Regions from separate parts of the Homo sapiens genome. Here all the other regions are linked to region 2. Evidence: promoter capture Hi-C in human tissues and cell types (Jung and others, 2019). All regions are on one chromosome and are shown on one strand. The core of a region is centred on a gene start or on the middle of the fragment in contact, and the rest is flanking DNA. Distances in the headings are between cores, read along the strand shown. Region 1 overlaps STK4 (serine/threonine kinase 4). Region 2 holds the start of WFDC2 (WAP four-disulfide core domain 2). Region 3 overlaps KCNS1 (potassium voltage-gated channel modifier subfamily S member 1).

Evidence for each region. Contacts are between HindIII fragments. The study calls those that stand out against the background at their distance.
Region 1: a contact is called between a fragment that was not itself captured here and the fragment with the promoter of WFDC2 in region 2, in 1 of the 25 tissues and cell types used here (dorsolateral prefrontal cortex).
Region 3: a contact is called between a fragment that was not itself captured here and the fragment with the promoter of WFDC2 in region 2, in 2 of the 25 tissues and cell types used here (dorsolateral prefrontal cortex and small bowel).

What each region holds. Positions count from the first base shown.
Region 1 is chr20:45,048,380-45,051,094 of GRCh38, reverse strand. The region is part of intron 10 of STK4 (serine/threonine kinase 4); the gene reads right to left. Among named protein-coding and RNA genes, the nearest start is that of KCNS1, 51 kb to the left of the region's middle. The HindIII fragment of the contact is 3,661 bases long and covers 1-2,715 here.
Region 2 is chr20:45,468,300-45,471,217 of GRCh38, reverse strand. It overlaps WFDC2 (WAP four-disulfide core domain 2), which reads right to left and starts at 1,465. Exons shown (of 4, transcript NM_006103.4): 1 at 1,358-1,465; 2 at 686-829. The coding sequence starts at 1,436. RefSeq lists silencers at 541-590, 611-800. The HindIII fragment of the contact is 12,073 bases long and covers 1-2,918 here.
Region 3 is chr20:45,092,090-45,095,126 of GRCh38, reverse strand. It overlaps KCNS1 (potassium voltage-gated channel modifier subfamily S member 1), which reads left to right. Exons shown (of 4, transcript NM_001322799.2): 4 at 1-3,037. The coding sequence ends at 257. Among named protein-coding and RNA genes, the nearest start is that of KCNS1, 7.5 kb to the left of the region's middle. The HindIII fragment of the contact is 5,760 bases long and covers 1-3,037 here.

The DNA.
Region 1 (2,715 bases), core at 198-2,697, 420 kb after region 2:
AGCCGAAAAACATTAAAACTCAGAGTTTGAAGTGGAAAGTTTCTATCTGTAAAAACAAGCCACTTTTAGGTACTATAAGCTATTAAGATTTGGTAATTCTAAATTAATTATGTATTTTTTAAACCCTTGGTTGTTAGAAAAATATAAAGCTCGATTGCTACCTTACTCTTAACACCAAGACAAATACATGATAGATTAAATATTGAGAAAGAAAAAATAATAAAACATTCTAAAACAAAGTAAGGGTTAATATTTTTGTAATCTTAGAATGTGAAAAACTTTCCCAAAGATGACATAAAATTCCAGAAACCACAAGAAAAAGCTAATAAATCAAAATATATAAAAATTTAAATGTCTGAAGTTAGATACCATATACAAAGCTTTAAAAGATATTCTAGCAGAATATCTTTACCACATATGTTAAAAGGTTCATAACCTGACTTGATAGCTGAAGAAGTCTTTAAAATCAATAAAGAAAATAAGAATTCCATGGAAAATTCAGTAAATAATATAAAGCAACAATTCACATACCAAAAACGATAGGGAAATTTAACAATATGTATCAAAATTTCAAATTTGTGAACAGTTTGACCCAATAATTCTACTGCAGGAATTAATTCTAAGGGCGTACCATGCAAAGATGTTATTAAAGCAATATTTATTAATATTAAAAAGCTGAAGGCTACCTAAATGACCATCAGCTGGAGACTGGTTAAATCAGAGATCACAAACACAAATGTTTTGAGAGACTGGCAAAGACAACAGAAATAAACTCAACAGTCTGCTCATAAAACAAAAACAGGAAGTGATGGGGTCTGTGAAGAGCTGGAGAACTCAGACCCATTTCAGTAGTTCAAAGTATAAAAATTACATGTGCCACAGGCCAAACTGGCTCCCCCTTTCCCAGTCCCCACACACCCCCAGAGTGAGATGTGTAATCTGTAGCCATGGCACGAGCACTGCTGACTGTTCTCTCTGCAGCCAGCCTAGGAAGATCCCCTTACTCTGAATGCTCGTCTGTTCTATCACATTTGAGTAGATACAAAGGAGCTCATTGATGTGGCCAAACGGATTCTCAGGATTAACAAAACCTTAAAGGTCATCTAGTCTAACTTGAAGCTTTCCTTGAGGCTGCAGTCATTCAGACGTTTAGGCCCAGGTGAACAGTGTAGAGAGGGGAGGGGAAGGAAGTGGAAAGTGATGGAGTACAAAGCCAGAAGTCAGGGAATGAGGACTACACTTGGCTTTCCTGTGGGATTTTCATTTTCCACAACAACAAAATTGAGATGGGAGGAGAAGTGGTGAGAATTCTTAAAAAGCTGAAATCCTGTGCATCACATATTTTCTGTATCACTGTACGTAAAACTCCATTAACCGAATACCAGGAACTCAAGCATTATTCTAATATGAAGTGCTGAATTCACAGTACCATTGTTAAACATCCGTTTAGCAATGAACTCTGGGCAGCTGTTACCCTCACTGACCAAGCTGGCAAAGGGAAGAGTTCCACAGATAATGTGACAGATTGTATATGGTATTTTTACTGCAAGATCTTAATTCATCCCAGGAACTGTTTTAAAAGAATAGTTGTAGTTTATAATTGCAGTCTCAGCAGCACTTCCAAAAGTGGAAAACCTCCACTTGAAATTGGAATGGAACATTTCTTCCCAATGTGTGAAAATAACTTTATGCTTGGTCCTGCATATCTAGGAATAAGAGCACTTGGGAGGGGGTAGAAAATTTCCTGACTTTACCTCATTTTTAATAGCACTACATTAAGATTTATTAAACTAGATGCATCCATGTCTAAAGAACAGTTTTTGCTGTGTATTTTCTCCTAAGTAAAGGGCAAATGGAAGTGACTAGTGGGTCTATAAAGTAGATTCAAGTTTGCTCTCCCTCCAGCTGCTGGCCACCCTCTGATCCAATGCTCTGCAATGTGAACTCTGCTTGATGAAAGGGTACCCTCGGCAGCTGATGGATCCCATACAGCTCTCTCTGTCTCTCTCTGTCTCTTTCATACATACGCACATACATTTACTTGAGCTATTTTACATTAACAAATGTACCATCAGGAAAAAACTGTTTTGAAAAAAAAAACATCAATGTGGGAACTGTCCAGGACCTATAGCCTCCAGGCAGGCACAGAAGGGAAGCAATCAGAGAAAACACAAAAGGTCTATCAGTGTTTTAGTGAGTATCCTTGATATTTAAACCCTAGGAACAAGAAAGTCATAACAGAATTAAGCTCACCCTAGGAACAAGAAAGTCATAACAGAATTAAGCTCATCTTAGGTATAAAATAAATATCATGGCTGGGCATGGTGGCTCACGCCTGTAATTCCAGCACTTTGGGAGGCCGAGGCGGATGGATCACCTGAGGTCAGGAGTTCGAGGCCAGCCTGGCCAACATGGTGAAACCCCGTCTCTACTAAAAATACAAAAATTAGCCGGGCATGGTGGCGGGAGGCTGAGGCAGGAGAACCACCTGAACGCAGGAGGCAGAGGTTGCAGTGAGCCAAGACCACGCCACTGCACTCCAGCCTGGGCAACAGAGCAACACTCCGTCTCAAAAAAAAAAAATCACAAAGCAAACAATGTGTGAACTAGCAGGGCCTGCAACAAAAGTGTGAAATAAGTGTAGGTCTTCCTCTTACCTTCCTTTTTTAGGGCAGCCCACCTCAGTATCTTTCCCTTTTCCAGTAGTTCATCCAT
Region 2 (2,918 bases), core at 216-2,715:
GACGAAGGGCGATACAGTGTCCAGGGAGGATTCCTCACTTTCTTCGAATCACTCAGCCAGTTGGCCTGAAAGGCAAAAGCTGAACCCTCACTATGACTCCAGCAGCCATGGGATGGCGGTGTGACCTTGGGCAAGAACATTTTTTTCTCACCGATGCTCCCTTACACATCTTTAAGATGAGCGGGGCATTTTCCTAAATCTGTAAAGTTCCTTTCCGCCTGGACAGAGGAATTGGGGAAAATCTTGCCAGGCCAGGCTCTCCCAGTCTTTCCCCAGGGCTGGGGGAGGCCCCCAGGGAGGGACTCCAAGAGGAGAGGTGAGCGCCCCAGGCTCCGGGCTTTCCCGCAGGGCAGGCTTCGGCCGGTTCGAGAAGGAAACTGCGGCCCCGGGTCCCCAGGCCGCGGGGAACAATGTCCCGGCTGTGCGTGCCCGGAAGCCCGTCATGCACCAGAGACTCGAATCCCAGCTAGGGGTGGGGACCCCCCCTTGGCTGCGTTTCAACGACGCCTTTGTCTACCCCTGGGCCGTGCGAGGGAGAGGACTGACGGATCTGGTTTCAACCGCCTTGACTTTCCCGGGGGTCCCCGGGTCCGGGGGCGCCCCTGTTCCCGGAACCCGGGCCCTCCCACCTCCTCCCAGCCCAGCGCGGCCCCGCCCCGTTCCCGCTCGGCCGCCGTGGGGTTACCATTGGGCAGAGAGCAGAAGGTGGCACAGCCCGCGCTGCAGCACTTGAGGTTGTCGGCGCATTCGCTGTCCGAGACGCACTCTTGCGTGCAGTTCTGGTCAGCCTGGAGCTCGGGGCACACGCCAGTCTTCTCTGCTCCTGTGCCTGGGAGGGGAGGCCCGGGACAGTCGAGGGTGGGGCGTAGCGCCAGCCCCAGAGGATGCCCACCTCCTGCTCCAAACCTTAACCCCAAGGAATTCTCAGTCTCTGGCCCTAGGAGTCCCCTTACAGCCCCCAGAGACTCCTTCTTCCAGACCAGGAGTCCCTGACCCCTGGGAGTACGAGAGCTCCCTAACCCTTGGCGTCGGGGCCCTCAGATCTCAGCCCTAGGGGACGCCGCACAGCTGAGCGTCTCGGAGCTTCCGAGGTCGAGGCAGAGCAGCCCCCACCCCCAGCCCACTGCAGCCACGGAGTGTCCGCGTTCAGCACAGAATCCTCCCAAATTGCAGCCATCAGTGGTCTCTCCACCTCCAGCACATTGGACCCCACACCCTAGGCTCCAAGGGTCCCCGCCACTTCCGCCCCCGGAATTCCCACTTCCCCAGCCTCCAGAGGCTACGCCTCCGCCTGGCTCCATCCTGGCGCTCGTGGCTCGGCCCCTCTAGGCGCCGGGCCTCTCCCCGCCCCACTCACCTGAGACTAGGGTGAAGCCGAACAGCAGCAGGCTGAGGAGGAGGGCGGCGGCTAGCGGGCCTAGGCGACAAGCAGGCATGGTGCTATGCCCGGGCGGGGTGCAGGTGTGAGCCGATGCTCAGGTGCGGGGATTTAACCGCGCGCGCGGGAGGGGGCGTGGGGTAGGGGTGGAGCCGAGCGGGGAAGGGGAGGGTGGAGGGCTTTGCGGGCACCGCGGGCGGGCTGCCACATGAGGTCATTTCACAATCCCCCAGGATCAGGTATCACTCTTGGCCCCGGTGGGAACCAGGAACTTAAGCAGCTTCCAGGACGGGACCAGCTACGGCCGGACCCTTGTCCACGCCTCCCTCCTGACCTCCCTCCTGGGGCCTGAGGGCCAAGGCTCAGGGCTCCTGGGTTTCTATTCCAAGACTCCGAGGTTTCTCCAGAGTGTCCCCAGTGGGCGGTTGAGGAGGATAAGGCAGGGCCCGCAGGGAGGCAGTAGAGCATGCGGGTTAAAGGGTTCGATTTGGGGTCAGCCAGATGAGAGGGCAGATCCCTCTTGATGGAGGGCTAGGGTAGTGATACAGAGCACATAGTAGGGGCTACAGAAATAGCACTTATTATTAATAAACAAACCCTCCTCATCAGAAACAGGCCCAGGAAGGTGAAGCACCTAGCAGTCTCAAGCCGTTTGGGTGTGTGTTTCTGTCTCCCTCTCTTTGTCCTACCGGCCCCTGATCAGGGCTGACTGTGCCAGGCTCTGTGCTCCTTGTCTCAAGGAATTGTCGCCGGTCCTCTGACCGGGGAGTTACTGTTATCAGCTGTATATGACAAAGGAACTGAGTGTTTAGGGATTTAGGACCGCACCTCCACCACAAGGTCCCCTGCAAAGCTGTACAAATAAGGTTTTGAACCCAGGTCTCTCCCTCCAGGCCCTTGTTTTTTCCATTCCGTCGTAAATATTCACTGGGTGCCTACTGTGTGACATATGCAGGGCAAGACGCTTGGTGAAGAGAAAGTCGTCAAAAGGGGCCCTCCAGCACTGGTCTTGAAGGGGTGACAGGGTCTGGGGTCTGACTCCCACCTCCACCACTTCCCACCTGAGGGCCCTGGAATGAATCCTTTCCTGGATCTGAGCTGCCACATCATCAGTGAAAATGACACCTATATGGGACTTCAGTGAGAACACAAATGCAACGTTCCTGCCACGGAACAACCATGTACTCACTGGGAGCATTGAGAGTAGATCCACACTGATTGACACAGGGACTCCAGGCCTGACCCATGATAGGTACTGGATACATGGCCATGAGTGCTCCACAGATAAGTGTCTCCTGTGACGAAGGAGACCAATAAGTATAAATGAAGCTTTAGAATCCAGGGGGTTAAGTGCCAAAACAGAGTTACCCAGGGAGTTAGACAAGAAGTGCTTCCTGCTCCAATGATCTGAGGTTCTAGAAGCCCCAGGAGGTCTTTGCTGCTGGAGGCTAGAGGGGCCCTGGGGCAGTGAACACTGGGATGATAGTGACAGGTGAGTAGGGTTTGGTGATGTGAGTACATCTGGCCACTGTCCCCAAAA
Region 3 (3,037 bases), core at 158-2,657, 380 kb after region 2:
TCCTAGGGGGCATCCTGGTGGTAGCACTCCCCATCACCATCATCTTCAACAAGTTCTCCCACTTCTACCGGCGCCAGAAGGCTCTGGAGGCAGCCGTGCGCAACAGCAACCACCAAGAGTTTGAGGACTTGCTGAGCAGCATTGATGGGGTGTCGGAGGCATCTCTGGAGACATCCCGAGAAACCTCTCAGGAGGGACAGTCTGCAGATCTAGAGAGCCAGGCCCCCAGTGAGCCTCCACACCCTCAGATGTATTAAAACCAGGGATCCGTGACCCCCTGCCATGCCCCTACAGTAGAGATTCCTCCCCTGCTAAAGTTCTTCATGGTAGTGAGCCTCCCAGGATCACTCATGCTGTCCTGAGAAATGAGATTCAAAAGCTGCATTCCTTCCTCCAAAGGCCCAGGACAGGACAGTGCTACCCTAGATTCTGTGAGATTCTGCAAGCAACTCAGAAAGCTTTATAAACCTGCCTCCAAGCCATTCATGAAGCAGGCATGAGCCAGAGGGAGGAAGTTGAAAGGATACTAATGATTCCTGAGCACCTCCTGTACATGAACCAGGTCATGTTTGGCCTTGTGTTGGAGAAAGAGAATTATCCCCACTTCACAGATGAGGAAACCAAGGCTAAGAGATGAGCGATGCCTCTCCCAGATGTCACAATTAGAAGTGGCAGAGTCAGGTTTGGAATCTGGGCTTGTTGGTGTGCCTGGAGCAATGCTCCATCAACTCCATCTTTCTTCTGCCCTCATGAAGTTTGCGTGTGTTTTTTGGTGATTCATGGATCCCCAGAGTTGATCCACAAGATAAGAAATCCCTTTCAGAGCCAGGGAAGGGTCCAGACAGGAGATTTGGATATAGGAGCTCTGGATCTCAGCTGTGGTTCCTTTCTAGGAGCATCCAACAGGAGTCAGCAATCAAAGATGAGTCCTGGAGGGAAGGAGGATGAGTCCTGGGAGGAAGTACCATAGCATTGTACTTGCCTCTTTAGCTGGTATGCAAGATTTGCTAAGCAATAATCTTCCGACCTTCCTCCCAGGGCTGATGTGAGAGAAAGAAAATCTGAAGGGCCCCTGGCCTGAGATCTAGACAACCTAGCTGCGCCAAGACCTGCTGTGTAAAGTGGTCCAATCCCTGCCCCCAAGTCCAGATTCCAGCCCCTCTGTCAAATGGTCAGAATCTGTGACCCAGAGGGCAATGAAAGCCAAGGAGAGCAGAGGGGTCTCTAACTTAAAGCCAGCTCAGCTCTGAAATGTTCAGAGGGCTGACATATATGAATACTGGCTTCTAAGACCCTCCCCCAACAGTCTGACCTTGGCAGTTCCTTTCTGCCCATCACACAGACGTCCAGCCCTACATTGTCCAGCCCTACCTAGAGTACCCATCCAGGCCCATGTGTGAGAGTCCTCTCCCTTCTGGCCAGCTCCAGCCCCCTCACCCTTGCTGGGGGCATATCTCTCATACCCACCTGCTGAATCTTCTCTTCACTTGCTGAGAAAGTCAGAGGAGGGGATCCAGTAGCCCTTTCCACATACTGTGGCTACAGCACCCAGCACTGTGCTGTTGTTGTCTGACTGTGGCTATCTCTGTCCCATCACCCTGAGCCTCAAGATGGAAGACATTGTCTGCTTGAACTCTGGGCTTGGTGCAGAGTAGGTATTTGGTAAATGTTGAATAGATCAACCAATTCCTACAGCCCACTGGGTGCCAAGCTCAGAGGGGGAAAAAAAGATAGCCAGAGAGAGACCTGGCCCTCAAAAAGGTGTGAACAAGACTGAAAAGGAGGTCCGTTCAGCTCCGCCTGCCCTGTCCCTGCTTGGTTCTTGAAGTTTTTACAATATATTCCTTGTAGGTTCTTCACTCACTCACTCAACAAATACCCGTTGGAAGAGTCTTAAACTGGGGCTTCATGTGTGGCCTGCAGTCATGTTTCGGCTTAGTCCAACAGTGTTTTTATTATATTTTAAGAATCTGAATGCCTTTGCGTGAGGCATGCACTCTCAGGTTCCCCATAGTGTCTCCCCCGCTGCCACCCACAAACAGACACACATGCCGTTGTGTTATGCCCAGCCACTCTGATATACTGGCTTCTGACTTATGGGCTGCTTACTAGTCTCAAGAGATACAGTGGTGGAAAAATATATCCCTATACTCATGAAGCTTACCGACTAGTAGGGAAGATAGACTCTAATGCAATAATCACATAAATATAGCGAGCTCTACTAAGTACAGGTGTGTATAATGTATCAGGGACCATGGCCCGAGAAAGTGAGAAGGCTTTCCTGAGCAAGTGACAATCTAACCTGCCATCCAAATGATAAATTGCTAATTAAGCAAATGAGGTTCCAGGGGGGAGTACTCCAAGCAGAGAGAATGGCATGTGTGAAGGTGTGTGTCATACACAGGGCCTAGTACATAGTGGGCCCCCTACATACGCATGGATTCTGGGTCTCCAGATTGGAACAGAGGATGGAGCTAAGCAGCAAAGGGCCTCCCTTGAATTCACCACACACATACCAGCCCTTCTGCACACTCTGCTCCTTACATCTAGGCCCAGCTGAACCCAGGTTAGGGGCAGATCAGAAGGGCTGCGTGTAGCACCCTTATGGTCTTGCAGAACACACCAAGAAACCCGACGGCTTCCATATTTTCTGACCCTACAAACAGGTCCCTAATACTGATGTGGAGAAAGCTCAAGAGGGAATCATCTGGCCTGAGCCTACCATGAGGCTGTTTGTGGTCCTGGCAGAAAAGCAACAACTCGCTCCCCTTCCCATGTATCAGTGAAAACCATTATGCAAATAAAGAGCTGGGCCCCAGGACGTGTTTCTGCTTGTATGGAGATGGCTCCCTGACATGCTGTCTGAGTGATTGGAGAGGGTGGGCAATATGTGGAATGACTTGGAATCCACATTCTCAGGCTCCAGTCCTGGATTTGGCACAAACTTTGTGGTTGTGCCAGCCAGAACAGGTTGCAAGTGACAGGAATTCAGTTGGAACAAACTTGGTCAAAAAGGGTAATTTATAAAATAATTAAA